Linked DNA regions of Homo sapiens: all the other regions are linked to region 1. The links are contacts of gene promoters, found by promoter capture Hi-C in human tissues and cell types (Jung and others, 2019). All regions are on one chromosome and are shown on one strand. The core of a region is centred on a gene start or on the middle of the fragment in contact, and the rest is flanking DNA. Distances in the headings are between cores, read along the strand shown. Region 1 holds the start of PDE9A (phosphodiesterase 9A). Region 2 overlaps NDUFV3 (NADH:ubiquinone oxidoreductase subunit V3). Region 3 overlaps UBASH3A (ubiquitin associated and SH3 domain containing A). Region 4 overlaps WDR4 (WDR4 tRNA N7-guanosine methyltransferase non-catalytic subunit).

What was found. The method cuts DNA at HindIII sites, captures the fragments that hold promoters and counts their contacts. A contact is called where the count stands out against the background at its distance.
Region 2: a contact is called between a fragment that was not itself captured here and the fragment with the promoter of PDE9A in region 1, in 1 of the 25 tissues and cell types used here (dorsolateral prefrontal cortex).
Region 3: a fragment that was not itself captured here is called in contact with the fragment with the promoter of PDE9A in region 1 in 1 of the 25 tissues and cell types used here (stomach).
Region 4: a fragment that was not itself captured here is called in contact with the fragment with the promoter of PDE9A in region 1 in 1 of the 25 tissues and cell types used here (spleen).

What each region holds. Positions count from the first base shown.
Region 1 is chr21:42,651,720-42,654,870 of GRCh38, reverse strand. It overlaps PDE9A (phosphodiesterase 9A), which reads right to left and starts at 1,250. Exons shown (of 20, transcript NM_002606.3): 1 at 988-1,250. The coding sequence starts at 1,056. It overlaps LOC101928255 (a long non-coding RNA gene), which reads left to right and starts at 1,213. Exons shown (of 3, transcript XR_244322.4): 1 at 1,213-3,151. RefSeq lists an enhancer at 1,565-2,286. The HindIII fragment of the contact is 36,096 bases long and covers 1-3,151 here.
Region 2 is chr21:42,895,636-42,898,786 of GRCh38, reverse strand. It overlaps NDUFV3 (NADH:ubiquinone oxidoreductase subunit V3), which reads right to left. Exons shown (of 4, transcript NM_021075.4): 2 at 1,740-1,860. Among named protein-coding and RNA genes, the nearest start is that of NDUFV3, 3.9 kb to the right of the region's middle. The HindIII fragment of the contact is 5,741 bases long and covers 1-3,151 here.
Region 3 is chr21:42,428,484-42,431,634 of GRCh38, reverse strand. The region is part of intron 8 of UBASH3A (ubiquitin associated and SH3 domain containing A); the gene reads right to left. Among named protein-coding and RNA genes, the nearest start is that of UBASH3A, 26 kb to the right of the region's middle. The HindIII fragment of the contact is 9,602 bases long and covers 1-3,151 here.
Region 4 is chr21:42,862,379-42,865,529 of GRCh38, reverse strand. WDR4 (WDR4 tRNA N7-guanosine methyltransferase non-catalytic subunit) reads left to right here. Exons shown (of 11, transcript NM_018669.6): 4 at 1,934-2,090; 5 at 3,136-3,151. Among named protein-coding and RNA genes, the nearest start is that of WDR4, 16 kb to the left of the region's middle. The HindIII fragment of the contact is 4,099 bases long and covers 1-3,151 here.

The DNA of each region.
Region 1 (3,151 bases), core at 1-2,500:
AAGCGGGCTACGGTGGGAGAGGGCTGTACTTTCCATTTCACGGGGATCAAGCCGGGCACAGGGTGAGGGAGGCTTGTTGGCTTAAATCTACTGATTAAACTGGCCAAATGCACCTCTGGGAACAGGAAAGACTCAAGCCTGGCCGGCACCTGCTCTGTGCCTGGCTGGGGCATCTCTCCCTGGCCTCCTTCAGTGGAGTACTCCGTGGGCAGAAAGGTGAGAAGCAGCTGCAAGGGCTTCCTGAAACGCCCAGCTGAGGTTTGAGGGATTTCCTCACAATGGCTTTTCCCTGGGGACTTTAGGGGGAGCTCATGAGAGCCCCTTCCAAGCCGGCGCGCTCATTGTCCCTCCCTGCCCGTCAGAGGGGGCCACGAACAAAGGGGGTCTATTCTGAACCCCTCTCCCGTGTAACTCAAGTCCGCTAGGAACGCTGGACATTCGAGGGACTTCCTATCTCCGCACAGCAGGGGAGAGCCGGACCCGCTGCCCCCCAGGCTCTCCGCGGGGCCCCGGAGGTGCAGCGGCCCGAGTCCCCCTCTGCAGTCGGAGCTACTCACCTGCGGGGGAGCAGTGTCCCCGCCGGCGCCCCCCGCACCTGCCCCCGCGCGACAGGAAGCGGCGGCTGCTCGCCCCCTCCGCGGACCACGACCCCGGGGCTGCCCGGCGGGCCGATCCACCGGAAATTAAAGGCTTCATGTGCCAGCCCTTGAATGTAAAAACTCAGCCTAATCAGATTTTCAAAAAGAAAAGCTCTGCCTGTGAAACGGAAACACTAGCCCGCCCCCCCACCCCCCACCCCCCAGGGCGAGTCGCCCCTTTCCCCGGGGAGCCGGCGCGTGGGGACCCCCGCCCCCGACCAGAGCTGGCGGAGCGCACGGAGGCCGCAGCCTGGACCGGCAGACGCACGGACAGTCCCGCCCCGCCGCGCCCGGCCCCGGCGCTGTCACCCGGGGGGAGGAGGGGGTGTCTGGGTGGGGGAGGGGCTACCTTCTGAATGCGTCCATCGATGTCCAGGTAGATGGCCTTGGGCCGGTAGCTGGAGGAGCCGGATCCCATCCTGCGCCCGGCGGCTGCACTCGGACTTTTTACTGTACTTTCCCGACGCCAGCCGCCGCGGGAGGCGGGGGAGGGGAGCAGGGGAGGGGGCGGGCGGGGGGCGGCCCGCGGCGCTCAGCCAACCACAGCCGCGCCGCCACCGGGCCCGGGACGCCCGGGAGCCGCCGCCGCGCGCCGCAGGGTCTCCTCCGCTCGGCTCGCGCTCGGGCTCGGGCTCCGACTCCGGCTCGCGCGCTCCTCCTCCCGGCCGCCCGCCCGCCCCTCCCCCTCCCCCCTCCCCCCTCCCTCCCCCGTCTCTCCTCTCTCCCCTCCTCTTCACTCCCTGCACCTCCCTTCCCCCTCTTTCTTCTTCCCTTGACTCCAGCCCCCGGTCGGCTGCCTATCTCCCGATGCCCCCTGGACAGCTGTGCAGAGCCCTGAGCGACCCCTTCGGCCCGGAGCCGTCGCCTCCCCACGCAGCCCGTCCCTCCTAAGCCAGCGCTGGGCTGAGCGTGGCCGCGCCGCTGTGGACCCCCCAGCCCCGCCGGGAAAACTCCCCTCGCTCCTCTCTCCCTGCTGCGACCGCCACCCTCATTTCATTTGAATAGAAAACGGGAAAAGTTCCTTCTCGGTCACCCACAGCCTTCCCCTAACTAGGGGGCGTCAGCCTCCTCCAGCTGCGCCCGGAGCTGAAATGGCGATTTTATTTCTGTCCTGTATGGGGCCGGACCGAGGATTACCCCGCCACAAGCTATCTGCTGGATTCAGCAGTTTCGTCCCCTCCCCGCTTGTGTGAATTGCTACAGGGAGTGTGGGAAAGGCGGGAGGGGAAGGGGGCTGTGGGCATCCTCTGGATCTGCGGAGCAGGGAAGGGCTGCCTTGGCCGCCCCCAGTTCTCCTGGGCTCCTCCATTGGGAATGGGGTTGGCGGCTGGGGGAGGAGGCTCAGATGCCGTGGTCCTGGCCCTGGGTGCAGGTCGCCTTTGGAAGCAAGTGTCAAAGCCAGCCGGAGCATGTGCTATTGTTTCGTTGGAAGTGAGTTCCAAGCCACCGCTTTCCATCTGTTAAGTGTCTGGGTGCTGCTTATTGAGAGAGTCTGGTGCACCCAGGCTCCTCCCTCCCCTTCGGGCCTGCTGGAGCCGGCCAGCCAGTGCCAGGGCCAGTGGTCACTTCCTCTCCCTCCCCTGGCCAGCCTGGTCTCCACCTGGTGGACGGTCACAGGCTTTACAGACACCCCCAGGGCCATCTGGAGCTCTGGTGGCAGCTGGGGTCCTGGGGAAGGTGAGAGCTCCTTGCCTGTCCGTGGGGGTGGCATCATCCTGTGAGGTAAGTGATCGTCCTCAGCCTTTGGCCAGTCCATCCTGTGTCACTTTATGTCCCCCCACCTGCTCTCATGGCGGGGGGCACGCTCTCAAATAACAACGGCTTGGAACTCGGTACCTTGGCACCCCCTGCCCACAGCTCCAGTGGAGTCCGTGTCAGAGCTTTGGCACCATGAGTTGTGCTTTTCAAGTGACAGGATGAGAAGGGGACAGCCTGGAGGCCTTTGGGGTGGGGAGACCCAGCTGGGTGGTTACAGCGGGCCAGCTGACTCGCCATGGGGATACTGTGTCCCCGGCTCATTGAAGTGAGCACTATTACTAGTAGTTCAATTTGTTGTCAAATGTTCCGATGCTATTTGGGCTAATCCAGAGATCGTGCTGTTGGGACCGCCTGTGCTGCCTGGCATGGAGTTCTTACCAGCAGATGGCTCATTGGCTTGGCACTTAGTTATTCTCCATCCCTTATTGTCATCTGGCCTAGTCTTCTGTAACCATTTCCTCCAAGAGCCCCAGAAGGACGAGTGCCCGCCCATGGGGGGTGGTTCTGCAGGGCAGTTCCCCAGGAGGGTGGAGGGTGTGGCTCTGAGACTCTGTGTGCGTCCAGCACCAGTGCAGGCTGGCCCCTCACACTGCCTGGCTGATTCTGTGCTCAGGAGAATAATCGCATCTATAATTACTTTGCACTTTTAGGAGCTGGACTGGACCCCTGTGTAGATACTGGATCGATGAGGCCTCAGCAGCTGCCTAGAGAGGAACCCTTTCCTCTCCCAGATCCCCATGGAGCAGTGCGGTCTT
Region 2 (3,151 bases), core at 185-2,684, 240 kb before region 1:
AAAAACATGCCAGGTAGGCTGGACACAGTGGCTCACACCTGTAATCCCAATACTATGGGAGTTTGAGGCAGGGAGATTGCTTGAGCCCAGGAATTCAAGACCAGTCTAGGCAATACAGTGAGACTTCATCTGTATGGAAAATTAAAATATTAGCCAGGGTGTGATGGTGTGCACCTGTAGTCCTGGCTACTCCAGGGGCTGAGGTGGGAGGATCACTTGAGCTTGGAAGGTCGAGGCTGCAGTGACCTATGATTGTGCCTCTGTACTACAGCCTGGGTGACAGAGCAAGACTCTATTTCAAAAAATAAACAACAACATCAACAAAACATGCCAGGGATATGCCAGGAGTGGTGGTATGTGCCTGTAGTCTCAGCTACTCAGGAGGCTGAGGTGGGAGGATTGCTTGAGCTCAGGAGTTTGAGGCTGTAGTGAGCTATGACTGTGCCACTGCACTCCAGCCTGGGAGAGAGAGCCAGAGCCCCTCTCTTAAAACAAATAACATAAAAGGAAGAAGAGAAAAAAACAATGATTGAAAAACGAGGCAGGAGTCATAGCACAAAACTAAATAACATTCCCGTGGAATCCAAGCCTCAAGTCCACACACTGTGAGAGGCAGTCAGGGGCTGGCACTCTCTTTGTATAAATACAAATATTTAAAAACTTACCAGTGTTCTGTGCACAGACCAAGGAGGAAGAAAACAAAAGAATCTAAATACTTTCAAACATTCAAACTGAGGAAATAGTATATTGATGAAAATAAGACCAAACTCAATTACTATTCTACAACCCCATATAATGATTAAAGATTTAGGACTGGGCACGGTGGCTCACGCCTGTAATTCCAGCACTCTGGGAGGCCAAGGCGGGCGGATCACAAGGTCAGGAGATCAAGACCATCCCGGCTAACATGGTGAAACCCCACCTCTACTAAAAATGTAAAAAATTAGCTGGGCATGGTGGTGGGCGCCTGTAGTCCCAGCTACTCAGGAGGCCGAGGCAGGAGAATGGTGTGAACCCAGGAGGCGGAGGTTGTAGTGAGCCGAGATTGCGCCACTGCACTCCAGCAGGGGCAACAGAGCAGGACTCCATCTCAAAAAAAAGAATTAAAGATTTAGGCCGGGCGCAGTGGCTCACGCCTGTAATCCCAACACTTTGGGAGGCCGAGGCGGGTGGATAACAAGGTCAGGAGATTGAGACCATCCTGGCTAACATTGTGAAACCCTGTCTCTACTAAAAATACAAAAAATTAGCCAGACGTGGTGGCACATGCCTGTAGTCCCAGCTAGTCCTGGACTGGGATTAAGCAAAGCCTGGAAAACCACAGATGGGTCTCAAAGAGACTGAAACAAAACAAAACAAAACAAAACAAAACAAAACAAACAACTCAGCATCAGAGGATGGAAAGTAAGGTGGCTTTCTGGCAAGCTCACTGTGCCGGGGCCATCTAAATGCCACAGAGCCTTTACCAAGGCATCACTCACTTCAGGTTGGGGTTTGGCATTTAGAAAATACAGGAAAAACCATTTCAGGGCTAAATATTCAGTCAAAGACTACGACATGACTGAAATGTTTGGTCTAAAATCTGTTATAGATCTTGTGTCTTGTATAATCTGGACACTGCTGAAAAGGAAGAAGCATAAATTACGTAGCTAGTAAAACTCACTGTCGTGCTTCGAAGGCTGACTAATCTATTTTCTTTTTGCATTCTCTTTCCCTTATGACTACCATCAAAATCTTACTTTTTGGTGGACTTTGCTTCTTGGAATTCTGTGGCTGACCCTTTTCACTCTTCCCTGATTCCGCAGACAAAGAAACCGTAGAAGCAAGTCCTCGAAACACCTGGGCTTCCTGGAGCATAGTCTGACAAAAGAATTAATGAATATGGATGTTTAGAGTAATGCCATTATAATAGCTGGTACTATATATGAATATATATATATATTTTTTGAGTCAGGGGTCTCTCTCAGTCGTCCAGGCTGGAGTGCAGTGGCACAATCATGGCTCACTGCAGCCTTCAACTCCTGGGTCCAAGCGATACTCTGACATAGCCAGGACTACAGGCACATACTACCATGCCTGGCTAATATTTTTTATTTTTTATAGAGACGAGATCTGGCTACGTGGCCCAGGTTGGTCTCAAACTCCTGGCTTCCTCAAACTCCTGGCCTCAAGCGATCCTGAAGCCCCGGCCTCCTGAAGTGCTGGGATTGGCCAGGTGCGGTGGCTTACACCTATAATCCCAGCACTTTGGGAGGCTGAGGTGGGCGGATCACTTGAGGTCAGGAGTTCTGAGACCAGCCTGGACAACCCCGTCTCTACTAAAAATACAAAAAAAAGGCCGGGCGCGGTGCGACTGTAATCCTAGCACTTTGGGAGGCCGAGGCGTGTGGATCATGAGGTCAGGAGATCGAGACTATCCTGGCTAACACGGTGAAACCCCGTCTCTACTAAAAATACAAAAAATTAGCCGGGCATGGTGGCGGGTGCCTGTAGTCCCAGCTACTTGGGAGGCTGAGGCAGGAGAATGGCGTGGACCCAGGAGGTGAAGCTTGCAGTGAGCCAAGATCGTGCCACTGCACTCTAGCCTGGGCGACAGAGCAAGACTCTGTCGCAAAAAAAAAAAAAAAAAAAAAAATTTAGCCAGGCACGGTGGTGCATGCCTGTAGTTCCAGGTACTGCAGAGGCTGAGGCAGGAGAATTGCTTAGACTCAGGAGGTGGAGGTTGCAGTGAGCTGAGATCACGCCACTGCACTCCAGCCTGGACAACAGAGTGAGACTGTCTCAGGAAAAAAAAAAAAAAAAGAAAAACAACCAAAGTGCTGGGATTGTGTGCATGTAGGTACCGTGCATATGAATATTACATATTACCACTACATGTAAGTGCAAAACATTCACATGGTATACTTCTAATGGTTATTACAGTTTTCATAATGTATGTATATTATGGACATTTTGTAAAATACAAAAAGGCTGCAAGAAGAAAACACCCGAGTTCAAGGACAATCACTATTAATATTTGGTTTAATAAAACTTCAACCAGACGTTCTCCAGTGCATTTTTTTTGTAGTCTCCAATTATTTATTAACCTACAAAATACCACGTTTCTTCTTTTTTCTTTTCTTTTTTTTTTTTTTGGAGACAGGGTCTCACT
Region 3 (3,151 bases), core at 452-2,951, 220 kb after region 1:
CCTTTTATGGCTCCCAGGTATGAATTCTGCTTCTGAGCACCAAGGGGAGAAGCCCTCATCCATCCCCTTGCTGTTTTCCCATAGCTGGTCATTCTCTGTTTGGCTGAATGCTAAAGGAAAACAGTACTTTATAGTTTATTTACTTCTTCTCGGCATGAGACTGGCCTTGGCGGTGGCCAGCAGCTTCGAGCCAGGGACAGCAGCTCTCTGGCACCTTCCTCCCCAGCCTCAGGCAGCCGCAGGATGGCCTTGGAGCCTTGCAGTTACAGGGCTCACGCCCGCCCTCTTTCTGGGGAGCCTGTGCTTTGGGGAAGTAGCCCAAAGGTCATGCTTGGGGCAGCGAGGCTGGCTACCCTTTGGGAGGGGCCTCCACTGTGTGGGATGGTGTTGTGGGGGGCTCTGTCCTCAGGGGCTAGGCCACCCTTCTCCCCATGCTGTGCAGGGCTGATCAAGTTGAGGGACTGGCCTTGAGAGGAACCCACAGCAAATGAGATGAAGAGAGTGAATGAGAGCTGAGGATGCCCCCCCTGGGACCAGAGAGCAGAGTGCTAGGGGCCGAGCCAGCTAGAGGCCACCAGGACAGCTGCGTGGAGCATAAGCCCTGCACCAGGACCCTGGAGGGAGACACCAGGCTCGGCTGCTTCCCTGGAGGGCACTAATGTGCCAGCTGACATCGGCCCTTCACCTACATTCCCAGCCCCAGAGCCAGGCCCAGGCTATCCAGGGGGGTCCATTTCAGAGCAAGAGGTGGGGAACCCTGCAGCAACACAGGCCCAGTGGTGCTGCCCTCTGGCACCCAGGACTCATGCCTCAACCTCCCTGTGACATGGCACCGCAGGGGGGAGCATGTCACATGCTGGTCCATGAAGCTGCAGTCCACAGCATCCCTGCTTTAGGGAGCTGCAGGTCTCCCTGGGCCAAGGGATGAACATGGAAAGATGAGTCATTAACAGAGATGGTGGGGGCAGAGCGAACACGGCCTGCCACGGGAGGTGGGCTGTGGGGCCTTCTGGGGACCAAATCCTGCCTGGAGCCCAGGCGACCAGGGATGGACGGGGTAGGGAGGACCCCTGGGCAGGAGGCAGCTCAGACAGGCACTATCCCTGCCCTGCTCCCTCTTGGCCACACAGCTCTCTCTGGGCTAAAATGAGAGGGCAGCTCTTGTGTGTGTTTTCCTACTGAGCAGGGTAAGGAAGAGAGGTGAGGAGAGGTAAGCCTTGTCTGCATAAACCCTCATACACCAGCCCCAGCATCGCCCTGATTCCCTCCAAATCCTAGAGAGGAAAATGCAAATGGCTTTAACATCCAAACACCCTCAGGGAGGAAGGGACTCATTTTCCACCTGGCCAGTGCAGCTGATCATTCCTGTCTGGACTTTCTTCTGTGAACAGTGATCCAGTCTCAAGGGTCTGCACTAACTGGCCACTCGCTCTGGCAAGAGTGGTCCCCCGTGGTGTCCCTGTACCTAGGGAAGTGATTGGAAACTACTGGGAAGGAAGGGACACCAGAAAGTAGGGTGGGGGCCAATTTCACCTGCCTTGAAAGCATTCTCGGGGTCAGCACCACGGGCAGCTCCTGCCAGATCCTGTGGATCCCTTGTGAAGTCCACGCTGGCCCGGACGATGCAGAATTTCCAGCTGCTGAAATTTATCAGGACCAGACAGTTCTCGGTGGCCCTGGCTACATTTGGTAGGTGCATAAACTATGGGATTGGTGAGCCAGTGAGAACGTTTGCAGTCACCATGCAAACACTTTCTTAGGGTCACTGGGCTGAGTCTTCAAAACGGATATACGGTAAGGCCAAGTGAATAGTATTGCTTTCCCTTATTGGAAAACTTCAGTTGTTTGTTTCAGGATAGAAACATGCATCTCCTGGGGAACAGCTTCAGGGGAAGGTTTGTCTTGCTGTCTTGCTCTCTTGCATGTGAAGTGTGGTTATGCAGAGGTTGCCTACACTGACACCAAGAGGCAGCACCCACCGCCCCTATCCCAGAATGAATATTAAAACATCCTAGAGAGCTGTAGAGAGCTGATCTGCAAGTAGATTGCAAAGCATGCATGCTCTTGGAAACTCATTCTGCCTAGTAACAAAGTCCCTGAAGTTTTCAACTTGCGGGCTGAAGTTTTGGATTTGGGGTATTTTCTTCCTGGAAGAGCTCAGAGCATTTTAAATGTTCTTCTGTGGAGCTTTGCCACAGGAATATGATGATAAAGCAAAAGAAAGCCCTGTGGGGAGTGGAATGGACTGACCCCTGGGATCTATGGAATGAGGCAGGGCTGCACCAATTCTCTAGACAGAAGGTGCTGCATTGGTGTCCTGGGGCTGCCATAACAGGCTGGGCGGTGCCAAGCAAGAGACATTTATTCTCTCACAGCTCTGGAGGCTGGAAGTCCAAAGTCAAGGTGTTGGCAGGGCCATGCTCCCTCTGACATTCTAGGGGAGAATTTATTCTTTGCTTCTTCCAGCTCCTGGTGGCCCCAGGTGTTCCTTGGCTTGTGGCCACATTGCTCCAGTCTCTGCCTCTCTGGCTGCATGGCCTCCTCTGCTGCTGTATCAGATCCCCTCTGCTTTTCTCTCATCAGCACACTTGTGATGGGGTTTAGGGCCCTCCTGGATGACCCAGGATCATTTCCTCATTTCAAGACCCTCCACTCAATCCCATCTGCAGAAACTCTCTTTCCTAATAAGGTCACATGCACAAGTTCCCGGGATTAGGGCATCATCTCTGGGGCCATGATTCTACCAGACCTGTGGCCAGTTGTCTTTTCTTACTGTAGGGAAGGGGTGAAATCCCTATAGAGAAGACCGTGTGAGGGGGGCCAGTTCACAGGCAGATGCATGTTCTGTTTTCAGCCATTGAAAGCACGGTTTAGACACAGGCTGAGCTACGAGCAGAGACTTCCATTCCAGGCTCTCCCCCTACCCAATACCTGGGTACTTCTCCACAGTACCCAGGTATTGGGTCAAATGTTATTTTAGATGTCACTGTGAAGGTATTTTTTAAAAATGAGATTAACATTTAAGTCACTAGGCTGAGTAAAACAGAATGGTCTCTGTTTTACTCCAGATGATAGGGTTGTTGGAATCCATGGTACTAGCTCAATCTTTTTAAATAGCTGAAAGTCCTTATTAAAAACATTTAAAGCTTTT
Region 4 (3,151 bases), core at 652-3,151, 210 kb before region 1:
CGCGGAGCAGTGCCCTCTGCTGAGCTGGGCAGGAGGCACGGTGTCGGGGGCCATCTGTGCCACACGCCTTCCAGCCAGGCTGGGGGGATGAGCGCCCTGTGAGTCCAAGTCCATCCCCCCTCCCTGTGGCATCCTCTTGGGCTGCTCCTCTGTGCCACCATGGTCGTGTTTGTGGCAGCTGCTTAATGAGCCCATCGGACATTGGGGGCTGTGTCGCTGGTGCAGTGCAGGGCTGTTTGTTTAAATTGCAGTGCACCCTGAGAATTCTGATTAATCTTGCCCCAGAGCGTAATTATCTTTCTTTGTCCTTGTTTTCTCTGTGTTTACCCCGTTATACTTCCCTTCTGCCTCCCTTCTGCAGCTCTGCTGCACAGCTGTGAGGGAGGAGGAGGGATGCTGCTTCCAGCCTGGGGTGTGGCCCAAAGGTCCTGCCTGCCCTTTTCTGTCTTTTAGTCCCTCTGCCCCTGAGAGAAACATAGGGGCCTCATTGAGGACAGCGTTCCTGAAGCTTCCATCTCAATTTCCAGCCGCAGTGGGCCGGGCGCCCTGTACTTGTCTGCCTGGTGTTGGCTGCGTATTGGGCAGTGTGTGCTGCCACAGCCCTGGGGGTGGGGAAGCAGGGCTGGCTGCTGTTCTGTAGTGAGGCCCTGTGGCTAACTGCGTGTGTGGGAAGCTGTGCTACAACTCATATCTATGTAAAATAGAACATATGGGTCCCTGCCTTGTGGAGAGGACATAAATACGGGACGATTCCAGTAGAAATGATGTGGAAATGAGAGCCCCAGGAAGTAGTGTAGCCCTGAGCCCTGGCGAAGGAGAGGGAGCGAACTGTGACTTTGGTTCTTGCTGAAGCAGTGTGCAAACGTGCTGCATCCGGAACTCTGGTGCATCCATGACTCTGGGTCGGGGTTGGATTCATGGATGTGCTGATGTGGATGTGGACTGGGGGGAGCGCAGGCCTCTCACACGCTGGATAACCGAGCTTCCTCCCGAGGAGGGTAGGGTGCTGCCTCACTGCTGCCCTGGGCTGGGTCCTGCCCTGAGGGTGGCCAGGCCCCTCCATCCCTCTGCAGGGCATGGGGCACGGCTCTCTGTCTGAGGCTCCTGGTTCGACGCAGCAGAACGAGCAGCAGGGGTCAGTGTGGGTCAGGGGAGCGGCAAGGCTGGGGGGCCCTGGAGACTGGTGCCTGCCTTTGTCCTTGACAGTGGCCCCCAGCACACTCAGCGTTTATGGAGAGGGCCGTTGTCTCCCTCAATGCATGATGAAGACTCTGGGGTTAAGGAACCATTCCCCCATTTCTTGATGACAGTTTTCAAACACACAGGAAAGTTGAGGATTTTGTCACGCATTTATCCACCACCTAGATCCCACCATCAGGAGCAATTTTCTATTCTTTTCTTTTTTTTTTTTTTTTTTTTTTTGAGACGGAGTCTCGCTCTGTCGCCCCAGGCTGGAGTGCGGTGGCGGGATCTCGGCTCACTGCAAGCTCCGCCTCCCGGGTTCACGCCATTCTCCCGCCTCAGCCTCCCGAGTAGCTGGGACTACAGGCGCCCGCCACCACGCCTGGCTAATTTTTTGTATTTTTAGTAGAGACGGGGTTTTCACCGTGTTAGCCAGAATGGTCTCAATCTCCTGACCTTGTGATCCACCCACCTCGGCCTCCCAAAGTGCTGGGATTACAGGTGTGAGCCACTGCGCCCGGCTAGGAGCAATTTTCTTAAAGAAAAACGTTGTGAAAGTAAATTTGTCGAAGGCATTGGCTTTGTTCCAGTTGTTAGCATTGCTTAATTTTTTTGGCACCACCTTCAGCAGCTGGAAAACAGAGCATATGGCCAGGTACCGGTGCCTGCCACCGCCCACGTGGCCTGCCAGGCTGTCGAGGACCCTGCGCTGCTCCTGGAAGCTAATGGGGGTGTCTTTCTGGCCTTCTAGGACCGTGGCAAGGAGGTGTACAGCCCTGACTTTCATAGCCTCGGAGGAGAAGGTCTTGGTGGCCGACAAGTCTGGAGACGTCTACTCCTTTTCGGTGCTGGAGCCACACGGGTGTGGCCGTCTAGAGCTGGGGCACCTGTCTATGCTGTTAGATGTGGTAGGTGGGGGACGTGGTAGGTGGGGGACATGGCAGGTGTGGGACACGGTACATGGGGGACGTGGCACGTGGGGCATACGCTGAGTCAATGTCTACCCTGTCAAGGCTCAGGCACCTGTCCATGCTGTTAGACGCAGTACGTGGGGGACATGGTATGTGGGGTACAGGCTGAATCAACGTCTGCCCGGTCTGTGCCCCAGCGTTTGGTGGGGAGAATGGGGCTCCCCCGTAGCAGGGACAGCCCTCTGCAGATTTGGGAGCAGGGGAGTGGTGGGAACAGGATTTAGGAAGGTGGAGCAGACAGCAGGGAGAATGAAGAAGGCAAGTGAGACAGGAGGTGGTCAGTAGGTGGCCCCAGGTTGGAAGTGAAGGTGTGGGAGGAGCAGGTGCAGCCACGAGCCTCTGGCTCCGCCTCCTTGGCCGGGAGCTGTGCCAGGTGCTGTAGGAGCATCACCTCAGCACTGCTCCCAGCAGCCCCTGTCACCCCACTCTGTGTGCCCCGTGTGTCACAGACACACACCTGGAGCCCCAGAGGGCGCAGGCCCACAGCCCGGGTGGTGGAGCTGGGATTGGACGCACACAGGGACAGTCAGGAACAATGGCGAGTGTGGGGTATCAAAGGGAACCTCACTGGGACTTGGTGACAGATGGGTGTGGGGACATGTGTGACAGGAAGGCAAGGAAGGCAACCCAGTGTTGGGCAGGAGGGTGCAGCAGGCCTGTGGCGGGTGGAAATGGGCGTGGGGCCTGGATTTGCCAAGGTGCGGGAGACAGGCAGGCAGGGGTGGCACTGCCCCACCCCAGAAGCCTGCTCTAGCACTGAGGAGTGAGGGCTAGAGGTGGCCAGGGACCCTCTGGGGAGGGAGAATGAGGGCCACCAATTAGACGTAGGGACGGGAGGAGGGGAGGAGCCACGCTGGTCTGTCCTCGAAGGCCTCATCCTCTTGGCGGCCAGGCTGCAGCTTCCCTGCCTTCTTCCATGAGGGACTTGATTCGGGAAGACTCAGGTGAGCGGCTTTTTCTTTTCTGGCCCCTGGTGATGCAGGCTGTGAGTCCTGATG